Linked DNA regions of Homo sapiens: regions 1 and 2 are each linked to region 3. The links are contacts of gene promoters, found by promoter capture Hi-C in blood cells and fetal thymus (Javierre and others, 2016). All regions are on one chromosome and are shown on one strand. Each heading gives the region's core, a stretch centred on a gene start or on the middle of the fragment in contact. The rest is flanking DNA. Distances are from core to core; before and after follow the strand shown.

What was found. The method cuts DNA at HindIII sites, captures the fragments that hold promoters and counts their contacts. A CHiCAGO score of 5 or more calls a contact.
Region 1: a contact is called between the fragment with the promoter of ZCWPW2 here and the fragment with the promoter of NR1D2 in region 3, in 1 of 17 cell types (neutrophils). The highest score is 5.7, in neutrophils.
Region 2: a fragment that was not itself captured here is called in contact with the fragment with the promoter of NR1D2 in region 3 in 1 of 17 cell types (non-activated CD4 T cells); the score reaches 7.0 in non-activated CD4 T cells.

Annotation. Positions count from the first base shown.
Region 1 is chr3:28,347,450-28,350,168 of GRCh38, reverse strand. ZCWPW2 (zinc finger CW-type and PWWP domain containing 2) reads right to left here and starts at 1,448. Exons shown (of 10, transcript NM_001040432.4): 1 at 966-1,448. It overlaps AZI2 (5-azacytidine induced 2), which reads left to right and starts at 1,345. Exons shown (of 8, transcript NM_022461.5): 1 at 1,345-1,568. RefSeq lists enhancers at 739-818, 857-1,151, 251-1,231, 1,419-1,478. The HindIII fragment of the contact is 7,230 bases long and covers 1-2,719 here.
Region 2 is chr3:19,942,152-19,944,944 of GRCh38, reverse strand. It overlaps a transcript of EFHB not described here and the pseudogene HSPA8P18. Among named protein-coding and RNA genes, the nearest start is that of RAB5A, 3.5 kb to the left of the region's middle. The HindIII fragment of the contact is 1,181 bases long and covers 900-2,080 here.
Region 3 is chr3:23,943,927-23,946,669 of GRCh38, reverse strand. NR1D2 (nuclear receptor subfamily 1 group D member 2) reads right to left here and starts at 1,384. Exons shown (of 8, transcript NM_005126.5): 1 at 1,076-1,384. The coding sequence starts at 1,091. LOC124909354 (a long non-coding RNA gene) reads left to right here and starts at 1,490. Exons shown (of 2, transcript XR_007095845.1): 1 at 1,490-2,743. It also overlaps a transcript of NKIRAS1 not described here. RefSeq lists silencers at 293-834, 331-1,520. The HindIII fragment of the contact is 14,696 bases long and covers 1-2,743 here.

The DNA.
Region 1 (2,719 bases), core at 199-2,698, 4.4 Mb before region 3:
ATTCTCAAAATGCATCATGGAAGCAATAAAAAAATTTAAGGACTGATACTTGCTCAAAATATTAAAAACACTGCTCTCTTCCATTCTCCAGCCCAGTAAATTGAAGCAAATCGTTTCCTTTCTCAACGATAACATTAACACAGATTTCTAAGTATTTTTAGAAATGTCATAAAACTTCAACTTGTGGTCTTTGTTCCTAACAGCTATAAATTTTCACTTAAATCTAAACCAAAAAAGACAATAAAAAAACCAACAACAATAAAAACGAATTTTCATATAAACCCTTGAGTGAAATCCATCCTATTGGGCTGACAGTTGGGCTGATAGTTAAGCGGACAGATGACAAAATACTACTTTAAGGGGGTGGTGAGTAATGTCCGTATTGCTAATCGGCGGTTAGTGACGTTAAATTTTCTATAATTATTGTTCCTTGTTTATTTGTTTATTTAACCAATAATACCTTAGAGTTACAGGGGTTCCACCTGGCTGCGACCTTCAATGACTAATTAATTCAACTACTTGTGACTCCACAGCTAGGGACGGTCTATCATCTAGAAATAACCAAGGTGGTGGCAACTCCAGGGAAGCCGGGCGCAACTCCAGTACTCTGGCATCTTCTCCCTGTCTCTCATTCCATAAATTGAGCAGTGTGCTAGAAGTCGTGGTGTCGTTTGTGAATAATTACAGACCCCTACGCAATTCGTCGAGCTTGTGCCTCAAGTGATCGCCTGAGGGCTTGCAAGTAGTTTAGAAAACAGAGGCTACAGAGGAACGGCTTCTAACAGACTTCCCAGTTCCCAGCCACGTCAGCTCGTAAGCCTGTAACAGCGCTACTGAGCCGAGCCAGCACGCACCACACGGCCCGGGGACCCCCCAAAAGGACACTGAGTGAAAAAGACGCACCAGAGGGCGCCCCTGAAGGGGGACCTCGGCCCAACAGACAAGACGGCTGGTAACGCTCTTACCTAACTCCACTCCGCCTCCGCCTCCTGGCGTCCCGCGGCCCCGCCCCGTCCCGCCGCGGAGGCTCACGGGACATGTAGTACGCCGCGCGCCACTCCTGCACTTCCCCACCCCCACGACCGAACCTGGCTTCGCTAACGCCCTCCCAGCTCCCTCGGGCCTGACTTCCGGTTTCCTCGCGCGTCCCTGGCGCCGAGCCCGCGGACAGCGGCAGCCCCTTTTCCGGCTGAGAGCTCATCCACACTTCCAATCACTTTCCGGAGTGCTTCCCCTCCCTCCGGCCCGTGCTGGTCCCGACGGCGGGCCTGGGTCTCGCGCGCGTATTGCTGGGTAACGGGCCTTCTCTCGCGTCGGCCCGGCCCCTCCTGCCTCGGCTCGTCCCTCCTTCCAGAACGTCCCGGGCTCCTGCCGAGTCAGAAGAAATGGGACTCCCTCCGCGACGTGCCCGGAGCAGCTCCCTTCGCTGTGGAAGCGGCGGTGTCTTCGAAGAAACCGGAAGCCCGTGGTGACCCCTGGCGACCCGGTTTGTTTTCGGTCCGTTTCCAAACACTAAGGAATCGAAACTCGGCGGCCTTGGGGGCGGCCCTACGTAGCCTGGCTTCTGGGTGAGTGACTCGCCAGGGACGGGTGGAGGATAGGGATGCGGGCAATGCCGCGGCCAACCTCCGTAGCTGTTGCCGGTCCAAAAAGACACGTCATTTTTTTCTCACTCCCTCCCGCGCCCCCTCCTTTGACTAGGGAGCGGCCCACTCCTGGGCATCCCTTTCCCCAGTCACCCCCACACCCAGCTGTCCACACCCTTTCCCCTGTCACCCTCACCCCCAGCTGTCCAGGCCCTTCTTGGTCATTCACTTCTCTAATTACTCCTTTTCTTTTCGTACTCTTACTGGGGCGCCTTCAGTTTTTTTTCATTCATTGAGACTGCTAAATGCTTCTTTCCGATACAAATTATCGGAAAGAAAAGAGGGACATTGGCTAGGACGGTACTCCCTGGGGCATCTGAGTGGTGAATATCGACCCCCTGCACTTGATCGAGGGCTAACAGGTATTCGTCGTTTCTCCAATGTCTAACCTGTATACGGTATTCATTCCAGCCTTCGGCTGTTTGTTGAGTAACTACTACTACGTGCAAGGTAGGCTGACACCCTCTACACAAAAGAAACCCCAATACTCGAAAGCGAGATAAAATACCCACGAAAACTCTAGTACAAATCAAACCATCAGTTGCTCCAAGAGGTGATGGAAATTTGCTAAGGTGATCAAAGACAGACGTACCAGAATTAAAATTGACCCTTGCGCCTTATGTGTAGAAGACATTTTGGTTTTTAGATTGGAATTTCAAATTGGATTGAGCAAGATCTCAAGGCAGAATTTCATTTCTCTAAAAACGCCATATCTCATTGCCCAATCTTGTGATCATTTCATCATCTGTAAATTGAGAACAGTGCATCCTTTACAGGATATTTCCAAATTTTAATGTGATATTGTTTGTAAGCCAGACATCTTACGCAAGTAGAAGGTTTTAATATTAAAGAGACAGCATAACATAATGGGAAATGACACTGGATTAGGTCAGAACACCAGTATCTGAATGCTGATTTTTCCATTTACTTGACAATGGGTAAGAGGCTAAACTTTTTCTTCATTTTCCTTATCTCTGAAATGGGTGTAATACATACTCTAAGGCACCAAAGCATAGTTTCTAAGAGTTATGCTGGCTCTGGAGTCAGCTGCCTGATTTTCATTTCTGGCTCCC
Region 2 (2,793 bases), core at 241-2,740, 4.0 Mb after region 3:
TTTTCTCCTTAGCCTTTCATTGAATTATAAGGTTTTTAAGGGCTGTGACCATCAGTTATTCATCATTTCAGTTCTTCACAGAAGACCCTTGACTGCTATAATAGGGACCCCCAAAGTATTGGTGAACTTAATTACATTTAGAATCACGAACATTAAGAAGACCTCACAATGAAAAACATTTGATGCTGAAATTTATAAATTGCAAAAAACTCCCTATTTCATCGTTCCAGTATGTTGCTTCTTCACTCGTTCCTGTTTAGTGATTTTGTCTTCACCTCCTTCATGAATACTTTTCACAATATTTTACAGTTTAGTCATAATGTTTGCCTGGAAGAGTGCTGCCCTGGTGGCTGGCATTTCTAAAGATCCGGTAGTAGTTTTAGAGAAATTGAAATGACACAGTAAAGCTCTGTTGTTTTATTGCCACTTGCAATATGCCTATGTTTTCTTTTTCATAGCCCCAGATAACTGAGGAGGACTGATAATTGTATATATTTTAGTGTCAAATGTGGAGTCCTACCAGTTGATAGAACTTGTTAAGGAAGGTACAAAATGGATAAATAATCATGAAGACTTAAACACTGTCTTTGATGCTTATACTGCCCTCAAATCTCTAAATACTCAATAACAAATTCCCAGTGGCAGGTGTCTCTCTACCATTCACAGGATCCCATAACCTTTTCCTTCTCTTCCAGGAAATCTGTCCTCCCTTGTGTAGCTAAAGAATGAATCTTTGCATAGATGATAATGAATGGTTACATTTACTTTTAACTGGAACTGTCTGGAGACAATTCAAAATTTTTCCTGGAGACAAACCAACGGTAACTCTAACATTGGCGTAGTAGCAAGTCAGTGAATAAAAGGCTGTGAAAACTTAAGCTAGTCATGTTTCAAAAGCTTGTGTCTTTGGAGGGCATCATTCAGGCTTCAGCTCAAATGTCATCTACCTAAGGGACTTCTAAGCCCACTAATTCTAAATGCTTTGTTACATATCGAAGTAGTCTGTTGTCTTCATAACAGCACTGTTTGATATGATATTATGCATTGTCTTCATAACACTTAGCACCATTTGATATGATATTACGCATCGTTCCACTTAATGGTTATCTATCCCTACTAGAATATAAGCTCCATGAGATAGGGGTTGGGTTATACAGTCAGTCCATCTGCTTGTGATTGGTTCTTGGACACTCCCTTATTCCCCCACCATATGGGTACCAAAATTTGCAGATGCTCTAGTCTCATGTAAAATGGTGTAGTATTTGCATGTAGGCTATTCTGTATGCTTTAAATCATCTTCAGATTACTTACAATAAGTAATACAATGTAAATGATATGTAAATAGTTGTATTTTTTTAATTTGTATTATTTTGTGTTTTTTTCATTTTTTAACTCAAATACTTTCGATGGAATACAGAGGGCTAACTGTATTCCCAACACTGACACAAAATAGGGAGGGACTCAATACCTGTTTGTAGAATGAATGAATGAATTGAATGAGCCCTTACCTGGATTTACATACTGCAAAGTCATTTGAAGAATTTATGGGGATTTATTGAATGCTGTGGCCACTTTTGGGGTTCCTATGTCTTTCTTCAGAATCCAATCCGGCCTACATGCAAACAACCCTGTTTAAAGGACCTGCAGTTGGTATTCATCTTGGCACCATCTACTCTTGTGTGGGTGTTTTCCAGCATGTAAAAATAGAGGTAATTGCCAATGATCAGGGAAATTGAATCACTCCAAGCTATGTCACCTTTACTGATACTGAACAATTGCTCAGTGATGCCACAAAGAATCAAGTTGCAATGAACCCCATGAACACAGTTTTTGATGCCAAATCTGATTGCTGATTGGACACAGACTTGATTATGCTGTTGTCCAGTCTGATATGAAGCATTGGCCCTTCATGGTAGTGAATAATGTTGGCAGGCCCAAGGTCCAAGTAGAATACAAGGGAGAGATAAAAAAAACTTCTGTCCAGAAAGGTGTCCTCTAGGGCCATGGACTGGTACTGGACTGTGGCCTGTTAGGAACTGGCTGCCCAGCAGGAGGTGAGTGGCAGCAAGTCAGTGAAGCTTCATCTGTATTTACAGCTGCTCCCCATCATTCACATTACCACCTGAGCTCCCCCTCCTGTCAGATCAGTGGCAGCATTAGATTCTCATAGGAGTGTGAACTCTATTGTGAATTGCACACACAAGGGATCTAGCACTTCTTATGACAATCTAATGCCTGATGATCTGTCACTCTCTTCCATCACCTCCAGATGGGACCGTCTAGTGGCAGGAAAACAAGTTCAGGGCTCCTACTGATTGTACATTATGGTGAGTTATATAATTATTTCATTATATATTACAATGTAATAATAATATAAAGTGCACAATAAATGTAATGTGCTTGAATTGTCCTAAAACTATCTTCCCCCGATCCTACCCCCTGCAACTTGGTCTGTGGAAAAATTGTCTTCCATGAAACTGGTCCCTGGTGCCAAAAAGGTTGGGGACAGCTGCTCTGTTATTCTGACAAAGATGAAGGAAATGGCAGAAGCCTACCTTGGAAAGAGTGTTACCAATGCTGTGGTCACAATATCAGCTTGGTTTAATGATTCTCAGCATCAAAGCTACCAAAGATGCTGGAACTATTGCTTATCTCAATGTACTGAGAATTATCAATGAGCTAACTGCTGCTTCTATTGCTTATGCCTTAGGCAAAAGGTTGGAGCTCAATGAAATGTGCTGATCTTTGACCTTAGAAGTGGTACTTTTAAATTTTTATTTATTTATTTTCTTG
Region 3 (2,743 bases), core at 135-2,634:
GAGTCACCTATGATCACCTGAGTCATCCTGACCATACGTGAGCTGCACGCTCAGCTGCGGGTGTGACCCGTTTACTGGAAAACTCCAGCCCGAAGGGATCTGGAAGCAGTTTTTAAGACTGTGTGTGTATGAGACAGGTCGCGTCCTAGAGCAAACGGTTTTTTTTGTAAACAGACGGCATCCTAACAGGGGCGGTGCTACCCAGTCTGCGGGGAGTCGCTCGGGATCGAAGCACCTCAGAGCTCCTTCGAGCGTATCCCTTCGGGAAAGCCCCACGCCTTCCCCGAGGCGCCTCCTCCGGCCTGCAGCACGCCCTCGTCCTGCACTTCCTCCTCGGAATCTGCAAGGTATGCAGCTACCAGCCTCCCCAGGCGCCGGTTCGTTTGGTTTGCGCGGGGTCCGCGCCTTGGGGTCACCTCGCGAAAAGAGCGTGCGGCGTCCGGTGCACTGCGGTGTCAGCGCCCGCTTCGGGGACGCCCCGCCGCGGGGGCTCAGCGGGCGCGCACGCGCGGCCTCCTCCGCAGTGTGCAACCCCGCGGGGGAGGAGGGAATCGCGGCGACGTCACTGCCCCGAGGCTTCCAAAGGGGCGGAGCCTCCCGGGAGGCTGCGGCGCTCCCAGCCAGCGCGCGCGCGCGCGCCCCCGCCCCCACGTGTCCCTGCGGCCCCGGGGAATGTGGGTCAGGGAGCCGAGCGGCCTCACGTGTCCCCGCCCGCCGCCGCCGCCTCAGCGCCCATTATGTAATGCCGCGTCACGCGCCCGCCCAGCCAACCGGCGCCCGCGCGCCGCCGAACGTAAACACAGCGCGCACGTGGCTCGCGCGGCCGGGCCATGTGAGGGGGGGGCCGGGCCGGGCGCCGGCAGGCCGCGCTGCGGCTTTGCAGGGAGACAAGAGGGCGGGCGCCGGGCGGCCCGGGGGGCGATGGGAACCGAGCCAGAGGCGGACACGCGGCGCGCAGCAGCCCACCCCGCCCCACCGGCCATGGGGACACCCCCTGCCGCCGCCCCCCAAAGTGCCCCGCGGGCTCTGAGCGCTCCCTCCGGCCATCCCCCACCCGCCGCAGTCCGGTTCTTACCTGCATTCACCTCCATGGTGCCCTCGCGGAGGCGGCCGGGGCCGCCCGCTTCCCGCAGAGGGGGCAGCGCCGCCGCCGCCGCCTCAGCGCCGCGCCGCCCCGGGCTGGAAGCAGCGGTGGTCGCGGGGCCCCCTCATGGGCAGAGCGGGCGGGGCTCCCGGGCCCCAGGCCGTGCAGCGCACAGCAGGCTGCAGCGAGAGAGGGTGGCGGCGGCCGGCGAGCGGCGCTCCTCGCTGGGTCCCTGACAACAAAAGCGGCGGCGCGGCGGCTTCCTGCAGCCAGCGCACCGCGGCGGCGAGGGCGGCTGACGGGGAGGGCAGCCGCGACCATGTGACCCGCGCACACACCCCCTCCCTCCGCCCGCCCTCGGCCGGCCGCTGCGGCGACCTCCGCCCCGCCGCTCCCCTCCCTCCCGCCCGCTTCCCGGCTCCCCGGCTACCCTTTTCTCCTGCGCTTCCCCCTTCTCCCCTTCCTTCTCCTTGCCGAGCCCCTCCTCTTCCTTCGTTTTTCCCCTCCGTGCCGTAAACCTCTTCTCCGTTTCCCTCCGCCGCATATTCCTCCCCTCCTCCTCCTCTTTCCTCTCCTCCCGGCTGCCTTTCCCGCCTCTGGCCGGGAGTCCTCTCCACGCCCTGCCCCCCAACCTGGTGGCTCTTAGGTCAAAGCGGTGGCTTGGCGCCGAGCAAGGGTGATTCTCAGGACCCCGGCTGGGCCGGCTGGTTCGGGCTTGCTCAACCCTTGCGCCCCCCACCCCCACCCCCCGCTCCCACCCGACCGACCTCCAAACGCTGGTCTCTGAGGGCACAGACCCTTCCCTTTCCCTCTGCACCCTCTAGGTGATTTTATCCAATCTCATAGCTTAAGTAGACCTATGTTCTTGTGATTCCCAGATTTATATTTCAAGCCAAGACCTCTCTTCTAATCTCCAGATTCCTACATCCAGCAGCCCGTTTGATTATGCCGCTTTTTTGCATCTCAGATTTTAGACGGGTGTACGCGTGTGTCCGAACTCAGCTAATGTGCAGTCAAGATCTGGGCGTTTCACCTTGAATGTAAATTTTAGATCAAAAGAAAAAAGCTAGACATAAATTGTATGCGTGCTGAGGTGAATTCTGAGGAAAGTGCATTGATGCCCGCAATTTAAACGCATTACTGAAGTAAGATGGGCTGATAGAGGCATGAATAGATGATATGGTAAGATGTTAAACTTAGGCGATGGGGATATGGGTGTTGCTTGTAAAACTCTTTCCAGTTTGCTCTGAAATTCTTCACTATAGAAGGTGGGGAAAATGTCACGTGGAAGACATATTTACATGTGCAACACCCTATTTCCCCACCCCCCAGGTTTCTTCACCATATCAATATTTACTGTTTTGGTAAATCTGCAAGTTCCTGAAGCCAGCAAAATTATGTTTCTCTCCTAACACTCTCACAGCCTTTTATTCTCCATTCAATCCATTAGCAAGTCTGAGCTATTCTACCTTCAAAATATGTTCAATCCCTGTTTCTCACCGTTGGTATTGCTAGAGCAAACCATTATCTCTTGCCTCAGCTACTGCTCTGGTTCCCTAACTAGGAGAGTGCTTCTTGGGTCCTCCTACAGTCACTTCTCCCCAGCAGTCAAAGTATTATTTTTAAAATGTAAATAAGATCTGATTACTCTGCTGAAAA